Linked DNA regions of Homo sapiens: regions 1, 2, 3, 5 and 6 are each linked to region 4. Evidence: promoter capture Hi-C in 16 types of primary human blood cells and fetal thymus (Javierre and others, 2016). All regions are on one chromosome and are shown on one strand. Each heading gives the region's core, a stretch centred on a gene start or on the middle of the fragment in contact. The rest is flanking DNA. Distances are from core to core; before and after follow the strand shown. Region 1 overlaps ZNF354C (zinc finger protein 354C). Region 2 has its middle 13 kb from the start of ZNF879. Region 3 has its middle 36 kb from the start of ZNF354C. Region 4 holds the start of ZFP2 (ZFP2 zinc finger protein). Region 5 has its middle 10 kb from the start of MSANTD5. Region 6 has its middle 27 kb from the start of CLK4.

Region 1 (3,259 bases), core at 667-3,166, 180 kb after region 4:
ATGCTGCAGGGCTGTTGTGATTTTCAAAACCTGAATGTCCCCCCACTCCTTTTTTTTTTTTTTTTTTTGAGATGAGTCTCTGTCACCCAGGCCGGAGTGCAGTGGTGTGATCACAGCTCACTGCACTCTCCACCTCCCAGGCTCAAGCGATCCTTTCACCTTAGCCTCCTCAGTAGCTGGGACCACAGGTACATGCCACCACGCCTAGCTAATTTTTTGTATTTTTGGTAGAGACGGGGTTTCACCATGTTCTCCAGGCTGGTCTCAAACTCCTGAGCTCAGGTGATCCACCTGCCTCCCAAAGTGCTGGGATTACAGGTGTGAGCCACCGCGCCCGGCCTGTCTTCTCTTTAACAGACTGTTTCCCCCTTCACAGACTACAATATAAAATCACAGTCACATGAAGTAAAGAAATTTAAGAAAACCAATCCAAATATTTAAAAGATTATCGGGCATAGAGTTTCAGAGAGAGCATGGGGAGAAAACGTAATGAAAGGGACATGTGAGTAAGAAGGAGAAGGTGGACAGGCTGCCTACTTCATTGCCTGGTATATGCATAGTGGAAAATGATGACAGAGTGGAGTATCCCATGGTATTCAGCGTGGGCTTATCATTTGGCATTTTTCTGTATCCTCATATCTTCTACTCAGCCTGTTCTTCTGCATCTAACTTTACTATATCCAGGTGGAATCGCTTCATTTTCATTGTTAATTTGTCCAGTGTATTCTCCCATGCCATTCCTTAACCTGTTTACCTCACTTTCCTTTATCCCATCCTGTTCTTCCCAAGATTCAAGTCAGCATTTGAAATCTGATTGTATCACTCTTCTTTCATATATACTGTTACCAGTTTTTTTGTCTCACCGATACATCAGTTTGTTTCTTCCAGCAGAGGAGGCATTAATTCTTCTGATTCATTTTAGGTTTCAAGACTTGGCTTGAAACAGAAGCATTGCCTCATAGACAGGACATTTTTATAGAAGAAACATCTCAGGGAATGGTAAAGAAAGAATCCATTAAGGATGGTCACTGGGACATTAACTTTGAAGAAGCTGTGGAATTTGAGAGCGAGATAGAAGAAGAGCAAGAGAAGAAACCTCTTAGACAAATGATAGATTCGCATGAGAAAACCATCAGTGAAGATGGAAACCATACAAGTCTTGAATTGGGGAAAAGCTTATTTACAAATACAGCTCTTGTCACACAACAGAGTGTTCCTATAGAAAGGATACCCAATATGTATTATACATTTGGGAAAGATTTTAAACAGAATTTTGATCTCATGAAATGCTTCCAGATTTACCCAGGAGGAAAACCTCACATCTGTAATGAATGTGGGAAGAGCTTCAAGCAGAATCTGCATCTTATTGAACATCAGAGAATTCATACAGGTGAGAAACCCTACAAATGTAATGAGTGTGAAAAAACCTTCAGCCACAGATCATCCCTTCTTTCTCATCAGAGAATTCATACTGGAGAGAAACCTTACAAGTGTAATGAATGTGAGAAGGCATTTAGCAACAGTTCAACCCTTATCAAACATCTGAGAGTGCATACTGGAGAGAAACCGTATCGATGTAGGGAATGTGGTAAAGCCTTTAGCCAGTGTTCAACCCTCACTGTACATCAGAGAATTCATACTGGAGAGAAACTCTATAAATGCGGCGAATGTGAGAAGGCCTTCAACTGTAGAGCAAAACTTCACAGGCATCAAAGAATCCATACAGGTGAGAAACCCTATAAATGTAGTGAGTGTGGGAAGGGATACAGCCAGTTTACATCTCTAGCTGAACATCAGAGGTTTCATACTGGAGAACAACTGTATACATGCTTGGAATGTGGGAGAACCTTCACACGTATTGTAACCCTTATCGAACATCAGCGAATTCACACTGGACAAAAACCTTATCAGTGCAACGAATGTGAGAAAGCCTTCAACCAGTATTCATCCTTTAATGAACATCGGAAAATTCATACTGGGGAAAAACTTTATACATGTGAGGAATGTGGGAAAGCCTTTGGTTGCAAATCTAACCTTTATAGGCATCAGAGAATTCATACTGGAGAGAAACCGTATCAGTGTAATCAGTGTGGAAAGGCCTTCAGCCAGTATTCATTTTTAACCGAACATGAGAGGATCCACACTGGAGAGAAACTGTATAAATGTATGGAATGTGGGAAAGCCTACAGTTACAGATCAAACCTTTGTAGACACAAAAAAGTTCACACGAAAGAGAAACTCTATAAGTGGAAGGAATATGGGAAACCTTTCATCTGCAGCTCCTCACTTACCCAGTATCAGAGATTTTTTAAAGGAGATAAAGCCTATGAGGTTTAGTTCATCTCTCAAATAATCCAAGACTTCTCACTGGGGAATAAGGGAATAATAAATAGGGTACAAACTCCTAATAGATTTGTCTTTTTTACTTCTCCTGAAGGAAATATGTTAGTTGCCACTAAGTCATGATAAAATTGATCAGTGAGACTATGAAGAGCACTGACTTGTTAAATTTTAAAAGAACCATAAATTCTAAGGTATCTAAAAACCTATGAGTATTTAATTCATAGAAAAAATGTAAAAGGTCTTTTTAAAAATCATGAAAAATAGTTGAATATACATTTTGTTTCTCTCATAAGACCATATTCCCTTTAAAAGAGTAAGCTTCAATATGTGAATTTTCTTTTAAAAACAGTCACTGAGTTAATAATGTAAATAAGTGTGTGGCCTTCTTTAAAATAGCTGGCTAACATAGGAGGCACTTCTTTTCATAAAGAGAAGCTAAACATAAAAAGGAATTTTAAATTTAACTCTTCACATGGAAATAATAAAGCTCTTTATATGAGCTGTCCCACCAGCAACTTATATATGTAAACATACATATATACACATATGCATGTGTGTGTGTAAACATAAAAGTCCTTTATTATTAAAAAATGTAGTTTTATTGATTTAGAATTTAGTTCTTAAAATCTTGCCCAAAGGTAGACTCTCTTTCTTTTACTTTCTTCCATTATTTCTTAAATTGATGTGGTTTTATATAACTGAACAGAGTACTATTACAGTACCGTAGAAGGCGGATTAACTGAAGCAGCTGGAAAGACTGTCAAGCACATACTTTGTTATCTGTTGCAGAAGGGATGTATTTGGCAGAATCTCAGGCTGCATGTCTGGTAGCTCATTAGAGCCAGGAGAGATTTTAGTTTAATTATAGCCTTTCATTGTACTAACGAAGGATTTGAACTTAGTGAACAGAGTCAAG
Region 2 (3,505 bases), core at 462-2,961, 140 kb after region 4:
ATTCCTAGGGAAGTAGAACTTCCCTAACTATTAGTAGTTTTAAAATCATCAAAAAGTTAAATCTGAATTAAAATCACACAAAGAGAACATTAGGCCAAGTTATTTTTTAAAACAAGATCTGTCAAAACTTGAAGTAACAGATAGATCAAGTTTTATGGAAAGTCTCCCAGAGGAGATAATGTAATAGCACAATTTTGCTAATATAACCCAGTGCCAAAGCCAGGTAAAGCACAAGAAATGAATATTATAGGCCAATATTACCTATGAACAAGAGGTGAAATCCCAAGCAAATCATTAGCAAACGTAATCCAGAGCACCTAAGCATAGTTAATAACATGATAAAAGTTCATTTATAGAAAGCCTACTGAAAAAGAATGGTAAGATGTTAGAAGCATTAATGACAAGAAATACCGAGAAAGAATAAACTGTAGCTGGGCACAGTAGCTCACGCCTGTAATCCCACCACTTTGGGAGACTAAGGTGGGTGGATCACCTTAGGTCAGGAATTCGAGGCCAGACTGGTCAACATGGCGAAACTCTGTCTCTACTAAAACTACAAAAATTAGCCGGGTGTGGTGGCACATGCCTGTAATCACAGCTACTGAGGAGGCTGAGGCAAGATAATTGCTTGACCCCAAGGAGGCAGAGGTTGCACTGAGCCGAGATCATGCCACTGCACTGCAGCCTGGGTGACAGGACTGTCTCAAAAAACAAAAAGAATGAACTGTTCAAAATTGGCTCTGAGACAGAAATGATTCACAGAAAAAAAATTAGATCCCTACCCTCACCATAACAATTATATGAAAAGCAAAAACTGAATAACTTGGAGGAATATGTAAAGGAATAATTTTATGTTCTTGAGATTGGGAAAGATTTCTTAAACAGGCTACAAATTAGCTATATAAAATTTTTGATTTATTTGCTCACATGAAAGAACTTCTTACCAAAGTATACAAAAACGGAGGTGAAAAAAGTCAAGACACAAAATCGATCTTTCTACAGTATGCCCAACAAAACTACTATAATCCAGAAATACTAATTTGTACAAATCAATAATAACACTAGGAAAATGGGCTAAATACATGACTTCTTATTTCACAGAAAAGAAAATACAAATTTCCAGAAACACGAAAAGGTAACTAACTTCATTAGTAGTTAAAATGCAAATTAAGGCCACGGTAATGTATGATTTTACAACCACAAATGAGGAAAAATTAGGATGTGTGACAATACTGAGCTTCAGGATGTATGTGGAATAAGAAATTCAGTAGTAGTGGGAATATAAGTCAGAGATGACTGACATAAAGCTGAACTTGTGCGTGTTGTGGACATCTGCATAGATGCACTGGAGAAATGATTGCATGTGGGCATCAAGGGATGTATAAAGATATTCTTAGCAGCACTGATCATCACACCAAATGATTGTAAGTAGTCTGAATGTCCATTAATTAGGAGAATGGATATATTTTGGAATATTAACACAGTAGAAACAGCAGTGAAAAGGAATAAAGTGAAGCAAAACATGGATGAAGCTGGCATGGTGGAGCACATCTGTAGTCCCAGCTACTCTGCTGAGGCAGGAGGATCACTGTTGCCCAGGTGTCCAAGACCAACCTGGGCAACATAGCAAGACAATGTCTCTAAAACAAAAAAACGGATAGATTGAAAAACACATTTTTGAGTTTTTAAAAGTCATTGGCAAACTACATAGGGTATGATACAATTTTTTTGCAAAATTATATGTTAAAAGGTATATACTGGCCGGGCGCAGTGGCTCACGCCTGTAATCCCAGCACTTTGGGAGGCTGAGGCAGGCAGATCACGAGGTCAGGAGATCAGGGCCATCCTAGCTAACATGGTGAAACCCCATCTCTACTAAAAATACAAAAAATTAGCTGGGTGTGGTGGCACATGCCTGTAGTCTCAGCTACTCGGGAGGCTGAGGCAGGAGAATCACTTGATCAGGAGGCAGAGGCTGCAGTGAGCCAAGATCGTGCCACTACATTCCAGCCTGGGTGACAGAACAAGACTCTTCCTCAAAAAAAAAAAAAAAAAAAAAAAAAAAGATATGTACATGTTTTAAAGATATTTAAATAACATCAAATGATTGAGAATATATTGTAGTTATCCATTGCTGTAGGACGAATCGCCCCAAATGTAGTGTTGGACAACAATGTATTGTCTGTCATGAGCCCATGTTGGGGCTTAGCTGGGAGGTTCTTACTTGCTGTCTAGTAGCTGTGCCATCAGAGCGGCTGGGGCTGAAGCTAAACTGGGCTTCAGGATGGCTGGCAGTTGCTGGTAACTGCTGGGTGAGAGCTGGCTTGGGCTACTCCATGTGGCTTGGGCTACTCCATGTGGCTTGGGCTTCTTACAGAATGGGGGTTGATTTCTGAGAGGGAGTGTCCCAAGAGCAAGTATTCCAAGAGAGCTAGGTAGAAGTTGCAGATCTTAAAAGCCAGCTTTAATTCTGTATACAATTGATTGAGAATGAGTCAAATTTGGCCCGTATTCAAGAGTAGTTTAATAAACTGAATGCCAAGGGCATGGTTCACTGGGGAACTGTGTATGGAGACTAGCTACCACATACATAAAGGACAGGGACTTTACAAAACTCTGGTGTGAGGCAAGGAGATGATGACTTGGGGAGAAGCACAGAGTCTTCCTCTACTTGCTTGGTGCTTGAGAGAGACTCCGTCTTCAGGAAGAGGCTGCTCCAGCCAGCCAGAGCCATTGGGTATGTCAGTAAAAAGAACTTTAAGAGAATTTGTCCAACTCAATCCTGGTGAGTTGAGGAGGAATAAAACAGAGATCCTGAAACCTGATCACCCAGGGTGATGTGAACATGAAGGTTAATATGGAATGAGCTTAAAGGTTGTACCTAACAGCCCTGCCACCATCAGAGCCTTCTTCAGGCCACTGCTCAACAGGAATGTGTCTCATTAACAAAGCTATCAACACTTTTCTCACCTGTCTATAATCTTCCCTTCTCATTCATCTCCCTAGATCTCCAGATAAAGAGAACATTGGTTCCTAACCAAAGTAAGGAAGTGCCCGGTAAATTATGTGTACCTTAAGATAAATAGGAAGAGAAAGAATTAACAATCATCTTTAAGTTGTCAACACATTTTCTTTGCCCAAGTTCTCTTGTTAAGACTCAACACTTCTCAACAGACTTGTTCAGAATCTAGGCAAAAAGAAAAATGTCCATTTTCATGGCTTCCTAACAGGTCGTTTCAAAGCAACCTGAAAAATGCAGAATATGTTTTAACTTTTATAATATGGTTGACATGCCTGATGTACTGTATTCAAAGAAATTACTTAAAATGCCCTTCTTTTCATGTGGTTTGGGGCTATTACTGGCTGCCACATGATCAGGTGTTTTCTCATGAATAGGTCTAGGAAAAATGAACAGGCCAGTTGTTTTCTAGTCTGGCCCTTCATTGGACCTGTCTGATGCTTCTTCATGATTAGATTTATGCTATGCGTTTTTTTGTTTGTTTTT
Region 3 (3,338 bases), core at 302-2,801, 200 kb after region 4:
CTACTCCATCCTGGCCTGTAAAGTTTCTACTGCGAAGTCTTCTGCTAGGAATATTTGATCTCTCTTACATGTTATTTGCTTCTTTTCTCTAGCTACTTTTAGAATCCCCTCTCTATGTTGGACCTTTGAGAGTTTATATGTCTTGGAGAATTCTTATTTGGGTTGAATCTGATTGCTAACCTTTGGTCTTCCTGTACCTGGATATTTGTATCTTTCTCCAAGTTTGGAAAGTTTTCTATTATTATTTCTTTAAATAAGCTTTCTACCTATATTTCTTCCTCAGTTCCCTCTTTAAGTCCAATAATCTGAATATTTGCTGGTTTGATGTTGTCTTATAGATCCCCTAAGCTTTCTTTATTCCTTTTCATTATGTTTTCTTTCTCTCTTCCATGTATTTTCAAATAGTCTGTCTTTGAGCTCACTGATTCTTTCCTATGTTTGATCAGTTCTGCTGTTGATGTTCTCTATTGAAATTTTCATAGTATTTTTCAACTCCAGGATTTCACTATTTTTTTCTTTTTTGAGATGGAGTCTTGCTCTGTTGCCCAGGCTGGAATCCAATGGCATGATCTTGGTTCATTGCAACCTGCACCTCCTGAGTTGAAGCGATTCTCCTGCCTCTGCCGCCTGAGTAGCTGGGATTATAGGTGTGCGCCACCATGCCTGGCTAATATTCATGTATTTAGTAGAGACAGAGTTTCACCATGTTATCCACGTTGGTCTTGAACTCCTGACCGCAAGTGATCCACCAGCCTTGGCCTCCCAAAGTGCTGGGATTTCAGGCATGAGCCACTGTGCCTGGCTGATTTCACATTTAAAAAAATTTTTGTTTTAATCTTTCTGTTAAATTTGCTGGTACATTTCTGAATTAATCCTATGTGTTTTCCTAAAGTTTGTTGAGCTATTTAGAACAGCTATTTGGAATTCTTTTTTTTTTTTTTTTTTTTGAGACAAGAGTCTCACCTCTGTCACCCAGGCTGGAGTGCATGGAGTATAGTGGGGCTATCTCGGCTCACTGCAGCCCCCGCCTCCTGGGTTCAAGTGATTCTTCTGCCTCAGCCTCCCGAGTAGCTGGGACTACAGACGTGCACCACCACACCCGGCCAATTTTTGTATTTTTAGTAGAGATGGGGTTTCACCATGTTGGCTAGGATGGTCTCGATCTCCTGACCTCGTGATCTGCCCACCTCGGCCTCCCAAAGTACTGGGGTTACAGGTGTGAGCCACTGCGCCCAGCCTGGAATTCTTCATCTGAGACATTAAACATCTCCGTCACTTTGGTCTGCCTCTGGCACCTTGTTTTCTCTGTTTGGTTAGGTCATATTTCCTTGAATGTTTTTGAGCTTGTGGATGTGCAACAATGTCTGTGCATTTAGGGACTGAAGATTTATTTTAGTCTTCACAGTCTGGCCTCATTTGTGCCTGCCTTTCTTCAGAGGGCCTTCCAGGGATTCTAAGCCCACTATTGAGTTCCCTGAGCCTGTGACCACTGTACCCATCTCAGCACTGGAAGATGCTCTATGCCCAGGCTTGCTGTGAGTCTCATGAGGACTTTGAGGTTTTGAGTCCCAGATGGACCTGGGGAAGACCCAAGGAATGGATATACTGGGGCTGTGTGGGAATGCTAGCCAGGGACCTGGGTCTAGAAGACTGTACTGTAGGCTCAGATGGGTGTGCCTCCTCGCAGATCTGAGTCTAGAAGACTGTACCGTAGGCTCAGATGGGTGTGACTCCTAGCAGGTCTTTGCATAGGTGGAATGGGTTCCTTACTGCAGCAAGAGGAGCTGGAGTTGAGACTGGGTCCCCTTGGAATCTGCTGTGGGACAAAGGCTGGAGAGCCCATTATGTTGGCCCAGATAGGTGAGCATCTCCCAGCAGATCTTGGAACAGATGAGATAGTTCTCTGATTGCAGTGGGAGGGGCTGGAGCTGAGACTGGTTCCCCTCAGGATCTGTTGTGGGATAAGATTGGCAAGCCTGTCAGGGAGGCTCAGACTCCTGGGATTGAGGTATGAGTGAGTCTCCCTCTGGGTTCTTGTGTGAGCAACTCTGAGCTAGGACCTACATGGGAGTGATGGGGACTGGAGCTGAGCCACAAGGCAACTTTGAGGTTTACTTCTAAGATGGAGGTGACGAGGCAGATGCCTTTCCACCAAGGCACTAGGGTACACAATTCCTTCTGGATCCTTTAACAGATGGTTTTGGTTGCAGGTTCAAAGTCAAACAGTACGGTAGCCAAAGCCCCTTGGGGGACTGGGCCATTTCTGGGCTTGAACCCAGGAACAAGATTGGTGGATCAGCCAACTGGTGTTAGTCTGCACTCTCAAAATAATCCTCCAAGATCTTGGGCTCCACCAATATTTCACAAACTCCTATCTGAATCCTGAGGCAGAGAGACTTTTGATTCTGGATAGGCGCAGAATTCTTGTTGTTGTGGGGAGATGTGAGCAGGTTACCTTCTATTCTGCCATCTTGGTGACCAGAATTTTCTAATTTTCAATGTTTTTTTGACCTGTGATTTATTTAGAGGTATGATTTTTAAATTTCAAAAATATATTTTAGCTAAATTTTAAAATATTGATTTCTAATTTAATTTTGTAGTTAAGTTACATTAAGTAAAAAATCATTTCAATTTATTATTATTCTTTAATTGTCCAATATGTTGTCAGTTGTCATAAATATTTTGTATGTGTTTGAAAAGAATGTGAGTTGTTCAATTGTTGGAGGCTCAGAGATATATGTGTTTTCCTTAGATCAAGCTTGTTTGTTGTATTATTCAAATTATATATTATTATTTTTTCTGCTGAGCTATCAATTACTGAGAGACATGTTAAACTTTTTCCCTAGGATGGAGGCTTTGTCAATTTCTCCTTGAGGTTATGACAACTTTTGATATATTAACCAGGTTAATTGAACTTTGATATCTTTATAATATTTATTTCATGACCCTTGTCTATCCAGTAATTTTTTTTTGCCTGAAAATCAAAAGCCCTGTATATACAGAATTATGGTGATATATATTAGAAACACTGTAGTTTAAATTGCTTTAGAAATAAGGAAGAAACTGCCACATTTGGGAACTTTGCTAGGAATTTAAATGCCTATTCTCTTTCACCACTAAAACTTTGTGTTACGGGTTTGTCACACATTATTGGAAATGGCACTTAGTCTAATTCCAATTGTTAGAAATAGACAATTTTATATTAAAAGTTGAAATATAGGTTCCAGAAATTTCTGATTTGATAATTTAGGCCAAATATCCTGCTGAAAACAGCTAAAAAGGCAAACGGCTGAGCAAGAAAAAAAAAATGGCTGAAAGGTGAGGAGGGGATTGGAATT
Region 4 (3,423 bases), core at 491-2,990:
TCCTTACTTGTTTTTCCTGACCTTGTGAATTAACAAGTTTTCAAACAATCTGTTACATTTGCTTTTAGTGGTACAGAGGAGGCAAAATACATTTTTCTTGCGCGTCCTATGTTGGTGGCTGAGACCCCTAAGACAAAAGACAAATTAACAAGAGCAAAACATACAAGTTTCTTTAATACAAGTTTTACATGACACAGCAGCCTACATAAGGAAATGAAGTCCCAAAGAAACAGTTAAAGTTGTGTATTTTTATGCTAAATTTGATGAAGTCACAGAGAAATATAAATGGACAAAGAGGATATGATCTAATAGTAATACACTGGGGGCAACTTAGCAAGGCCTGTTTGTTCAAGAGTTTTCTCTGTGACTGTGTGTCTTCAGCAATAAAGATGTTACTTTCCTCCAGGTATAGGGAGTGCAAATCTCACATGAGAATCTTACGACCTGCTTCAGGGGACGTTAGGAAATTCTTCCTAGGTTTTACAACCTGCTTCGTGGGAGATGTGTGGAAAAGTCCTTCCTGTTTCTGCTGTTTTCTCAAATGATGAGGTGCCATATTTTGGCAGTGAGTGTGTGTGTCCTGAACTATATCAGTACGTGTTAGGAGGGAACAAAATTAGATGTGTTGTACCCAATCTGCCTTCTTTTCTTCTTTACTGTATGCTTTGAAGGCTGCAAAATTTCCTCTAAATATTCCCTTTACCTAAATCTTTTCTAAAAAGTTTCTAGTCTTTTAAAAAATGTTTAGCTTAATTACATTGTCAAAGAATATGGTCTTGTGTGATACCAATTGCTTGAAATGTGTTGAGGCTACTTTACAGACTAGTATGAGATCATTTCTTAAGTAAATATATGCTTTTCCATGTGTTTTCTTCAGTTTTGGGGTGGAGTAGTCTACATGTCTATTCATTAACATAAAACTAATTTTGCTTTTCAAATATTTCATATCTATAGTGACCTTTTTGTCAGCTTTTCTATTAGTTACTGAGAAGGTAGGTTAAAAACTCTGAGGCCAGGGTGGTGGCTGACGCCTATAATCCCAGCATTTTGGGAGGCCAAGGCAGGAGCGTTGCTTGAGCCCAGAAGTTTGAGACCAGCTTGGGCAACAGAGTAAGATCCCATCTGTACAAAAAAGAAAGAAAACAAAATTAAAAATGGGTTCTGCCCATGTTTGCTTTATGTATTTTGTATCTTATGTTATTAAATACATAAAAGTTTAAAATATTTTATTTGCTGGTAAATTAATGCCTTTTTTTTTTTTTTAAGACACTCTCTTGCTCTTGTCACCCAGGCTGGAGTGAGGTGGCGCAATATCGGCTCACTGCAACCTCTGCCTCTCAGGTTCAAGTGATTTTCTTGTCTCAGCCTCCCGAGTAGCTGGGACTACAGGTGCCCGCCACCACGCCTGGCTAATTTTTTTTGTATTTTTAGTAGAGACAGGGTTTCACCATGTTAGCCAGGCTGGTCTTGAATTCCTGACCTCAGGTGATTCACCCACCCGCCTCCCAAAGTGCTGAGATTGCAGGCCTGGCCAGAGAGACGACTTTAGCCGGGGTAAGGGGCCGCCTGGGAACCCCGCGTCCCGCCTGGACACACCGATGACCTGCAGAGGCCACACCGTGGGCCACCTCAGCTGGCCACTGGCACAGCCTTGCCCTCTGGGGCCCCGTTCTCGCACACGCCGACGGCCTGGCCGCACTGCAGCCCCGCAGCCTTGTGGGAAATGTAGTCTGGCGCTCCGGGCTGTAAGCGCCGGTCGCGGCTGTGTCGGTCGCCGCTGCTCCCGCTCCTGCTGGGAGAGGGTGAGTGCGGGGCCGGTGGCGGGGGCGCGCGCCATCCGTGAGTCTTGTAGGCCCCCGCAGGAGGAGCTCCGGATTGCGGGGCGAGGCCCCAGCTTCCTGAGGGTTGAGGGGCGGGCCCGCAGCAGATGGGCCGGGGGTGCGGCCTCACTGCGCCTGTGGAGCGCCGGGCCTCCGGCTCCAGGTGCGCTCCCTCTTCCCCAGGAGCTGGCGGCGGGAGCACGCTGGCAGCTGAGTGTCCTTCGGCGCTGTCCTGGGCAGGCGCCGAGGTGGAATCACAGCCCCGGAGCAGCGGGGATGGGGGCTCGAACAAGGGCCACGCCGGCCACCACGGGTCAGGGAGGGGCCCAAGGTTCCAAGAGTCGCTCGGACCCGGGTTCCTCCCTGGCTTTCCCCAGCCGCGCGCAGCTTTGTCCCGGGACACGCTGCGACCGTGGAGCGAACCTAACCCGCGGACATCCCGGGGATTCTGGGCCAGAGGCTGGGTCTCCCTGTGCAGCATCTGCCCTTTGTGTAAACCGGGTCTCCGGACCCGCCCTCTGGATCTCATTCCGAGAGCGCTGGCGTGGGCTCCCCTCCCATCTCACAATAAGAATGGGGAGGCCAACCTGGTGCAGGTTTCGACCTCGGGGAATCTTTTCTTTTTTTCCTTAAGCGATTTCACTGTAGCACAACTGGAAAATTGAGATTAAAACAATCATTCAAAATCTATCTCCATCTGCATGGCAGCGTGGATATGTGTATAAGCATAGAAACACTTTGTACTTTGTTTTTAAACAGAAATATGAATATTAGCAGCTTTTTCTCCATCTATCTTTTAAAACTGAGTCATGAGATGCATTTGGTAAGGGGTTTGAAGTGCACAAATCTTAAGCCTTGTAATTTTTTACTGGCCTAAACACCCAATGAAGATAGAGAATACATCTGAAAAAAACATTGGAATATGTTGACACCATCTACTTATACCAGATTTTAAATAGAGCTACGTCATTTTAATGAGTGTGAGGGAAAGTATGGATGTGTCGTATTGAATCCTCTCCTTAGGTTTTTGTGTTAGGGTTTTCTTTTTTCTTTTTTTTTTTCAGTATTATAAACAGTATAGGCCATCTGGCTACATACATCTTTGCATTTTGTCTTATTCTATAAATCTCTTAAAGTGAAATTTCTAGGTCCAGGGTACAGTAAGGATTTTGATACCTCCTGTCTTATTCCCTCCAGAAAAGTTGCAGTTTATATAAACACTTGCAGTGTAAGAGTGCCAGATTTACCCACACCAACTGTGAATGTTAGTATTCTCTTGAACTTCTGAGAGGTGCAAAAGATAGGATTGTTTACATTTGCATTTTGAACACTAATGAATATTTTCACGCAGTTTGCATTTTGTATTTTAATTTTGTATCTGATACATAAGCATGTTTCCTGACTGTGCAGAAACGTCACAGGTTCTTATGGTCACACATGAAAACCTTTTCTTCACGTTTGGGTGTTTGACATCACTGGCAGAGAAGCTGTCTGTCCCACGAGATTACAAAAATGTTTGTAGTTTCTCTTAGTACTTTCATTTTTTGTGTACATTTTTATTTTTTTCCAAATGGTAAGCCTTTGTTACAAGTTACTTAGTAAT
Region 5 (3,426 bases), core at 802-3,301, 190 kb before region 4:
ACATTGGACTTCTGGGATAAATCCCAGAAGTTCATGATGTGTAATCATTTTCATTAGCTCCTTTATTTATATTAATTTTGGTAGAAATTGCCTAGCCATAGGTGCCAGGGGCTTCAAATTCCTCTAGTATCCTTGCTTTCATCTCCACTTGTAACTGAATTTCCCCAAATGGTCCTCCTCGGGGACAGTCTGTGGCTCTGTCTGCTATAACCCAGCGCTGTTGCACTGCGGCTCTGCTGGGATGGTGGCAGAGGGGGTGCATTCTATAATCTTCCAGTTAAATCTGTCAGTACTCGTGTGTCCAAGGGCTGGGACCTACTCAAGTGTTCTCCAGTGGTATAACTTTGCCTCCTTGCCCTGCCCTCCCTCTCCTGCTTGCAGGATTCCAATCTACTGGAATCCTCAAAGTGTTGAGCCATGTTGACAGTTTCCTCTCCCTTAGGTGAGACAGGAAGGATAGAGAGAATGGGGAATGTCCTTCCTCCAGCTAGCATAAGACTCTGGCAAGCTTTTTTTCCCTAGAGTGTCGGCTTTTATGGAGAAGACTCTGGGTGTATTTCACAATGATTCCCCTTCTTCTGCCACAGCCCTCAGGGGATATTTCTCAGATCATGACCTTGGGAATCTGCTGGGATTCCTGGAGCTAATGGCAGTGGCGGTATGCGGGACCCGTTATGACTATGGACCCAGAAGTTCCACATTCTCAGTTTAGTCCATATTCAACCTCCAGCAATTCATCAAAATTACCTGTTAGTTTTCCGACCAGTTTTGGCTCCAGTGGGCTCCAAGTAAACAGATCTCAGCTGTGTCTCTGGATACACCCGTCTCTCCAGATTTCACAGTTGTGACTTCAGTTCTCAGAAAGATAAAAGTCACTGCTTTTCAGCTTGACTAGCTTTTTCTTATAAGGATAGGGGTGACTACTTCCAAGCCGTTTGCATGTTGTAGTTGAAACTGGGGGTTCCAACAAATTTCTGAGTGCTAGAGAATGAAAGAGAGAATTGAAGAATGAAGAATAGAAGAATATCGAATGACAACAGAATCACAAAAGTCCTTTAACTGCTCAGTTTAAACAGTTTAAATGCCGAGGAAGGGAACAATTTCATGATGACTTCAGTGTCAATAGGATGGCTATCAGAGGTTGTCTGTGTAGCATCATGCAGAAACGCAGAATATGGATAGGACACCTTCTACAGCCTACTTCAGGCTTTGCTTTAATTTTGAATAACAATTGTTTGCACTTCTGGCGGGGCGCGGTGGCTCACTCCTGTAATCCCAGCACTTTGGGAGGCTGAGGCGGGTGGATCATGAGGTCAGGAGTTCGAGACCAGTCTGGCCAACATGGTGAAACCCCATCTCCACTAAAAATACAAAAAAAAAAAAAAAAAAAAAAAAAAAATTAGCCGGGCATGGTGGCAGGTGCCTGTAATCCCAGCTACTTGGGTGGCTGAGGCATGAAAATCGCTTGAACCCGGGAGGCGGAGGTTGCAGTGAGCCGAGATCTTACCATTACACTCCAGGCCAGGCGACAATGCGAGACCCCGTCTCAAAAAAAAAAAAAAAAATTGTTTGCACTTCTACACATCTACATAAATTTGTATTTGTATTATATCAACCAAAGGAATACAATTTGACTTATTAACTCAATTTAGTTTCTGCAAAAAGCTTCAATTTCCCAGGTCTCATCTAGAAGGGATAAGATAGCTTTATAAGCACAGGTTTTCAAAAGAAAAACATTGCAGAGGCAAAAAAAAAAAAAAAAAAAAAAAAAAAAAAATTCTCATTGTGATTATTTGCATCTGGGGTTATACTGTAAAAAGAGACATTTTAGATCTTTTATATAGTCTCTAATAGTAAACAGAAAGATTACATTTTTATTACTGCAGATTTTATCCTGGCACTTGAAAATTCGTTTGCAATTTTGGAAGCAGGAAATACTTTTGGTGTGTTTCCATTGGTCATTTGAGCTGAAAAGATTGAGTGTGGAAAGTCATTACAATTTCTGCTATGGTTGTTTTATTTTTATCTGAATTTCCTTTCATCGGAAAATTTGTTACTTTATCCGTTTCTTTAGCACTATTTGAGGAAATCATCTATCACTTAGGCTTAGCTGTTAGTATATCCTGCCTTATATCTGACTTTCCAATATGTTCAATACTGAATGAACAATTGTGTACTGTAGAAAGAGCTTCAAAACATCTTTTCTCTGATACCAAATATTTTAAAAATTAATCATGAAACTTATACTTGCATTTTGATTCAAATATACATAAATGAAAATAGGCAATAGGGTAGATCTCATATTAAGTATCCTTAACACAAAATATAAAATAAAAAATAAGTTAATAACAATAATTGAAAATACTAATTTCGATCATCTCACTCACAAGAGTGAAGCATAATTACCAATAAATTGAGGCTGAGCTATTGAAAGGTTGGAAGCTTACAAACTAACAATAAACTTGAACTTGATATGTGACACAGAAAAGTCGAACTTGATGCATGCCTGCAAGGGAGAACTGTGTTTGCAGTAACAGGATCCCTGAAGAAAGCCAGAGCTGATCTTATCCAAAATTTTAAGCAGCTCAGTGTCTGGGACTGGCGAATTTTCAGAGGCAGGGATGTTTATGGACTGTTAGATTTTCAAGCGTGTTAGTGTGGTCACTGGAATTAGACGGTTGTCGACTGGCTAACTTCCAGAAGCACGGTCACTGGAAGGAGGGACTTGCTGACCAACCGTGGTCTAGAAGCAGCACTCAAGTGGCATTCAGAAGCTGGAGGCTGTCAGGAAGTTGATTTCAGAAGCATGGCTGCTGGCAGCGAGGCCATCATTGATTTTTCAGACCACGTGTACTGATCCAAAGATCTAATTATTGGGGATTATTTTACAACTTAGGAATTTGGCCAAAAGAACAGTCTTTTCCTTTCTTTAATACGGAAAACAAGTACTTTTATTCTCACTTCCCCCTTTTGCCTTCCCTCAGTCAAACACATAGGATAAAACATAAGAGATGGTTCAGATCTTTATTTGTGGAGGTATGATTTCCAACTTGTATTGCCACTTAAGCGATTTAAGCGCCAATTACTGAAGCAGAACCGTAGCTCAAAGTGCTGATTTTTCATTAATGAGGGGAGAAACCCTGAATACATTTAAGGCATCCTAACAAAGTTAATACAGGATTCAGGACAAAATCATTAAATACAGGACGTTTGGCAACCCTACCTGTGAGTCAGCTTTCTCCTCACTTGCCACTCTCACCTATTTGCCTATGAAAACCATGCCTTATTTATTCTAATACATGATTATCTGTCTCCTGTTCTCCATCAATGCTGTCCCTGTTTGAGTTGGAACCCTCATTTACCTATTACTTGAATTTAAACAGCCCAGATTTCCTGGGTGGCATCAGTCATCAGCTTTCTTCAACC
Region 6 (3,408 bases), core at 529-3,028, 240 kb before region 4:
TCTTTTTCAAGGTACTTAAAGGAAACGAGTTCTATAGAAGCCAATACTCAGCCTTAGGACAATTGCTACAAATTATTAAACTCATGTTATGAAAGTGGGTGCAAGACATGAGTGAATGAATGGGTTACAGAACAATGGAAGTAAATCAAACACATAAATCACACTTCCAGCCGGGCGGTGGCTCACGCCTGTAATCCTAGCACTTTGGGAGGCTGAGGTGGGTGGCTCACACCTATAATCCCATCACTTTGGGAGGCTGAGGTGGGTGGATCACTTGAGGTCAGGAGTTTGAGAGCAGCCTGTCCAACATGGTGAAACCCCGTCTCTGCTACAAATACAAAAAACTAGCCAGGCGTGGTGGTATGCGCCTGTAATCCTAGCTACTCGGGAGGCTGAGGCAAGAGAATCGCTTGAACCCGGAAGGCGGAGGTTGCAGTGAGCCAAGATTGTACCACTGCACTCCACCCTGGGCAACAGAGTGAGACTCCATCTTAGAAAAAATAAATAAATAAAAGTAAATCACACTTCCACTCAGTTTCTCAGCCATGCAGGGTACACCTGCTTACTGTATCTTTCCCAAGAGCCATATAATTATGAAAAGAATAAGACTTTCCCTTTTATTATTTTAAAGACGGAGTATAAAAAGTATTTGTTCCTTTAAGACCACTTTATTGAGGTATGATTGACATATAAAGAGCTGTACATATTTAATGTATCCAACTCGATGAATTTAGGCATAAGTATACCCCTGTGAAACCATCACCACCACCAAGGCCATAGACATGCCCATCACTTTCCCAAGCTTCCTCCCACCCCCTTTTTTATTATCATTATTATTTTGTGGTAAGAGCACTTAATAGAAGATCTGCCCTCTTAGCGAATTTTAAGTATCCAAGACAGTATTGTTAGCTATAGGCACTATGCTGTAGTAGGTCTCTAGAATTTATTTATCTTGCATAACTAAAATTTTGTACCTTTGACCATCACTTTCCATTTCTCCTCCTCCAGCCCTTGGCAACCACCGTCCTGCTCTCTACTTCTATGAGTTCGACCATTTCAAGTTCCTCATCACACTGAAACCAGGCAGTATTTGTCTTTCTGTATGTGGCCTATTTCGGTTAGCATGATGTCCTCCAGGCTCAGCCAAATTGTCACAAGTGGCAGAATGTCACTTCTGTTTTTATGACTGAACCCCATTCCATTGCATATACATACCATGCTTCTTCATCCATTCCTCCGTCGATGGACATGTCGGTTGTTTCCATATCTTGGCTATTGTGAATAACACTGCAGCGAGCATGGGAGGGCAGTGTCTCTTTGAGATCCTGATTTCAGTTCCTTTGGATAAATACCCAAAATTAGGATTGCTGGATCATATGATCGTTCTATTTTTAATTGTTTGAGTAACCTCCACACCGTTTTCCATAATAGCTGTACCAATTTACATTCACGCCAATAATGTATCAGAGTTTCTGTTTTCCCACATATTCGCCAACACTTATCTTTTCTTTTTTTTTTGAGACAGAGTTTTGCCCTTGTTGCCCAGGCTGGAGTGCAATGGTGCAATCTCGGCTCACGACGACCTCCACCTCCCGGGTTCAAGCGATTCTCCTGCCTCAGCCTCCTGAGTAGCTGGGATTACAGGCATGCACCACCATGCCTGGCTAATTTGTATTTTCAGTAGAGACAGGGTTTCTCCATGTTGGTCAGGCTGGTCTCGAACTCCTGACCTCAGGTGATCCGTCCACCTCGGCCTCCCAAAGTTCCGAGATTACAGGCGTGAGCCACTGCGCCCGGCCATTTCGTTTTTAATATAATAGCCATCCTCCCAATGAGGTGATCTCTGATTATGATTTTTTTTTTTTTTTGAGACGGAGTCTTGCTCCTGTTACCCAGGCTGGAGTGCAATGGCGCAATCTCGGCTCACTGCAACCTGCACCTCCCAGGTTCCAGCGATTCTCCTGCCTCAGCCTCCCAAGTAGCTGGGGTTACAGGCATGCGCCACCACGCCCAGCTAATTTTTGTGTTTTTAGTAGAGACAGGCTTTCACCATGTTGGCCAGGCTGGTCTCAATCTCCTGACCTCAAGTAATCTGCCCGCCTCGACCTCCCAAAGCCCTGGGATTACAGACGTGAGCCACCACACCCAGCCAGTACCCATTTTTAAATTGGGTTATTTGGAGGTTTCTTTGCTAGTGAACTGTTTGAGTTCCTTGTATATTGTGGTTGTTAACCTTTTATCAGGTATGTGGGTTGCAGACAGTTTCTCCCATTCTGTAGGTTTTCTTTTCAATTGTTTCCTTTGCTCTGCAGACCTTTTAGTTTGATATAATCCCACTTGTTTATTTTTACTTTTGTTGTCTGTGCTTTTGTTGTCATGTCCAAACAATTATCACCAAGACCAATGTCAAGGAGCTTTTCCTCTACGTTTTCTTCTAGAAGTTTTACAGTTTCAGGTCTTACGTTTAAATCCTTCATACATTTTTAGTTGATTTTTGTGTATGATGTAAGAAAGGAGTTCAGTCTCATTCTTTTGCCTGTGGATATCCAGTTTTCCACACCATTTATTGAAGAGACCATCCTTCCTCTGTTTTATTTTCTTGGTGCCTTGTTGAAGGTAAGTTGACCATGTGTATGGGGAAGAGCATTATTCCTGGCTTCTCTACTCGGCACCATTGGTCTAGGTGTCCATTTTTAGGCTAGTACCATACCGTTTTGATTACTACAGCTAAAGTAGTAGCTTTCTTCACCGAAAGGAAGCTTAACAGTATTATTCATAAACCGTAAAATTTTAGTTTACTAGGGTAGAATCTTTCAAAAATGGCATATGGGAAAGTATAAACGGATGGGTTTCTCACTAAGAGAAACTCTGAGCCCAATTTAGGACCATGAACAGATTAATTTCTGTTTATACTAAACAAAGTGTTATGTAGAGAATCTCTTCAATCTAATACTGTTTCTTATGCTAAAATATAGCTGTCTTTTTTTTAAAAACTATTTAGTTTAGAAGCCATTTCAATTTATACATTTCCCATACTTCTGTTCTTCCAAAAGATAAACACATACAAACACCTCGTGGTTTCTTTTGAAATTCCTTCCATGAGAAAGGTGAGCAGGAAGAAACGGACAACAGCTACAAGCCTGTCATACTCTTGTTGGATTAAGAATCTGGGAACCGTTGGTCGGGTGCAGTGGCTCACACCTGTAATCCCAGCACTTTGGGAGGCCAAGGTGGGTGGATCATCTGAGGTCAGGAGCTCAACACCAGCCTGGCCAACAGGGTGAAACCCTATCTCTACTAAAAATACAAAAATTAGCTGAGTATGGTGGTACACACCTGCAGTCTCAGCTACTTGGTAGGCTGAGGCAGGAGAATTGCTTGAACTCTGGAGGCGGAGGTTGCAATGAG

Evidence for each region. Contacts are between HindIII fragments. The CHiCAGO score rates a contact against its expected background, and 5 or more counts as called.
Region 1: a contact is called between a fragment that was not itself captured here and the fragment with the promoter of ZFP2 in region 4, in 12 of 17 cell types (M1 macrophages, M0 macrophages, erythroblasts and 9 more). The highest score is 12.0, in M1 macrophages.
Region 2: a contact is called between a fragment that was not itself captured here and the fragment with the promoter of ZFP2 in region 4, in 1 of 17 cell types (non-activated CD4 T cells). The highest score is 5.3, in non-activated CD4 T cells.
Region 3: a contact is called between a fragment that was not itself captured here and the fragment with the promoter of ZFP2 in region 4, in 11 of 17 cell types (M1 macrophages, erythroblasts, non-activated CD4 T cells and 8 more). The highest score is 9.3, in M1 macrophages.
Region 5: a fragment that was not itself captured here is called in contact with the fragment with the promoter of ZFP2 in region 4 in 2 of 17 cell types (M1 macrophages and erythroblasts); the score reaches 7.0 in M1 macrophages.
Region 6: a contact is called between a fragment that was not itself captured here and the fragment with the promoter of ZFP2 in region 4, in 2 of 17 cell types (megakaryocytes and erythroblasts). The highest score is 5.5, in megakaryocytes.

The regions. Positions count from the first base shown.
Region 1 is chr5:179,077,761-179,081,019 of GRCh38, forward strand. It overlaps ZNF354C (zinc finger protein 354C), which reads left to right. Exons shown (of 5, transcript NM_014594.3): 5 at 923-3,259. The coding sequence ends at 2,337. Among named protein-coding and RNA genes, the nearest start is that of ZNF354C, 19 kb to the left of the region's middle. The HindIII fragment of the contact is 1,486 bases long and covers 1,174-2,659 here.
Region 2 is chr5:179,035,409-179,038,913 of GRCh38, forward strand. No RefSeq gene overlaps it. Among named protein-coding and RNA genes, the nearest start is that of ZNF879, 13 kb to the left of the region's middle. The HindIII fragment of the contact is 6,608 bases long and covers 1-3,505 here.
Region 3 is chr5:179,094,721-179,098,058 of GRCh38, forward strand. No RefSeq gene overlaps it. Among named protein-coding and RNA genes, the nearest start is that of ZNF354C, 36 kb to the left of the region's middle. The HindIII fragment of the contact is 2,410 bases long and covers 347-2,756 here.
Region 4 is chr5:178,894,173-178,897,595 of GRCh38, forward strand. It overlaps ZFP2 (ZFP2 zinc finger protein), which reads left to right and starts at 1,741. Exons shown (of 5, transcript NM_030613.4): 1 at 1,741-1,802. RefSeq lists an enhancer at 1,454-1,643 and silencers at 1,754-1,863, 1,934-1,983. The HindIII fragment of the contact is 12,652 bases long and covers 1-3,423 here.
Region 5 is chr5:178,706,192-178,709,617 of GRCh38, forward strand. It overlaps a transcript of MSANTD5 not described here. Among named protein-coding and RNA genes, the nearest start is that of MSANTD5, 10 kb to the left of the region's middle. The HindIII fragment of the contact is 777 bases long and covers 1,664-2,440 here.
Region 6 is chr5:178,651,910-178,655,317 of GRCh38, forward strand. No RefSeq gene overlaps it. Among named protein-coding and RNA genes, the nearest start is that of CLK4, 27 kb to the left of the region's middle. The HindIII fragment of the contact is 1,957 bases long and covers 801-2,757 here.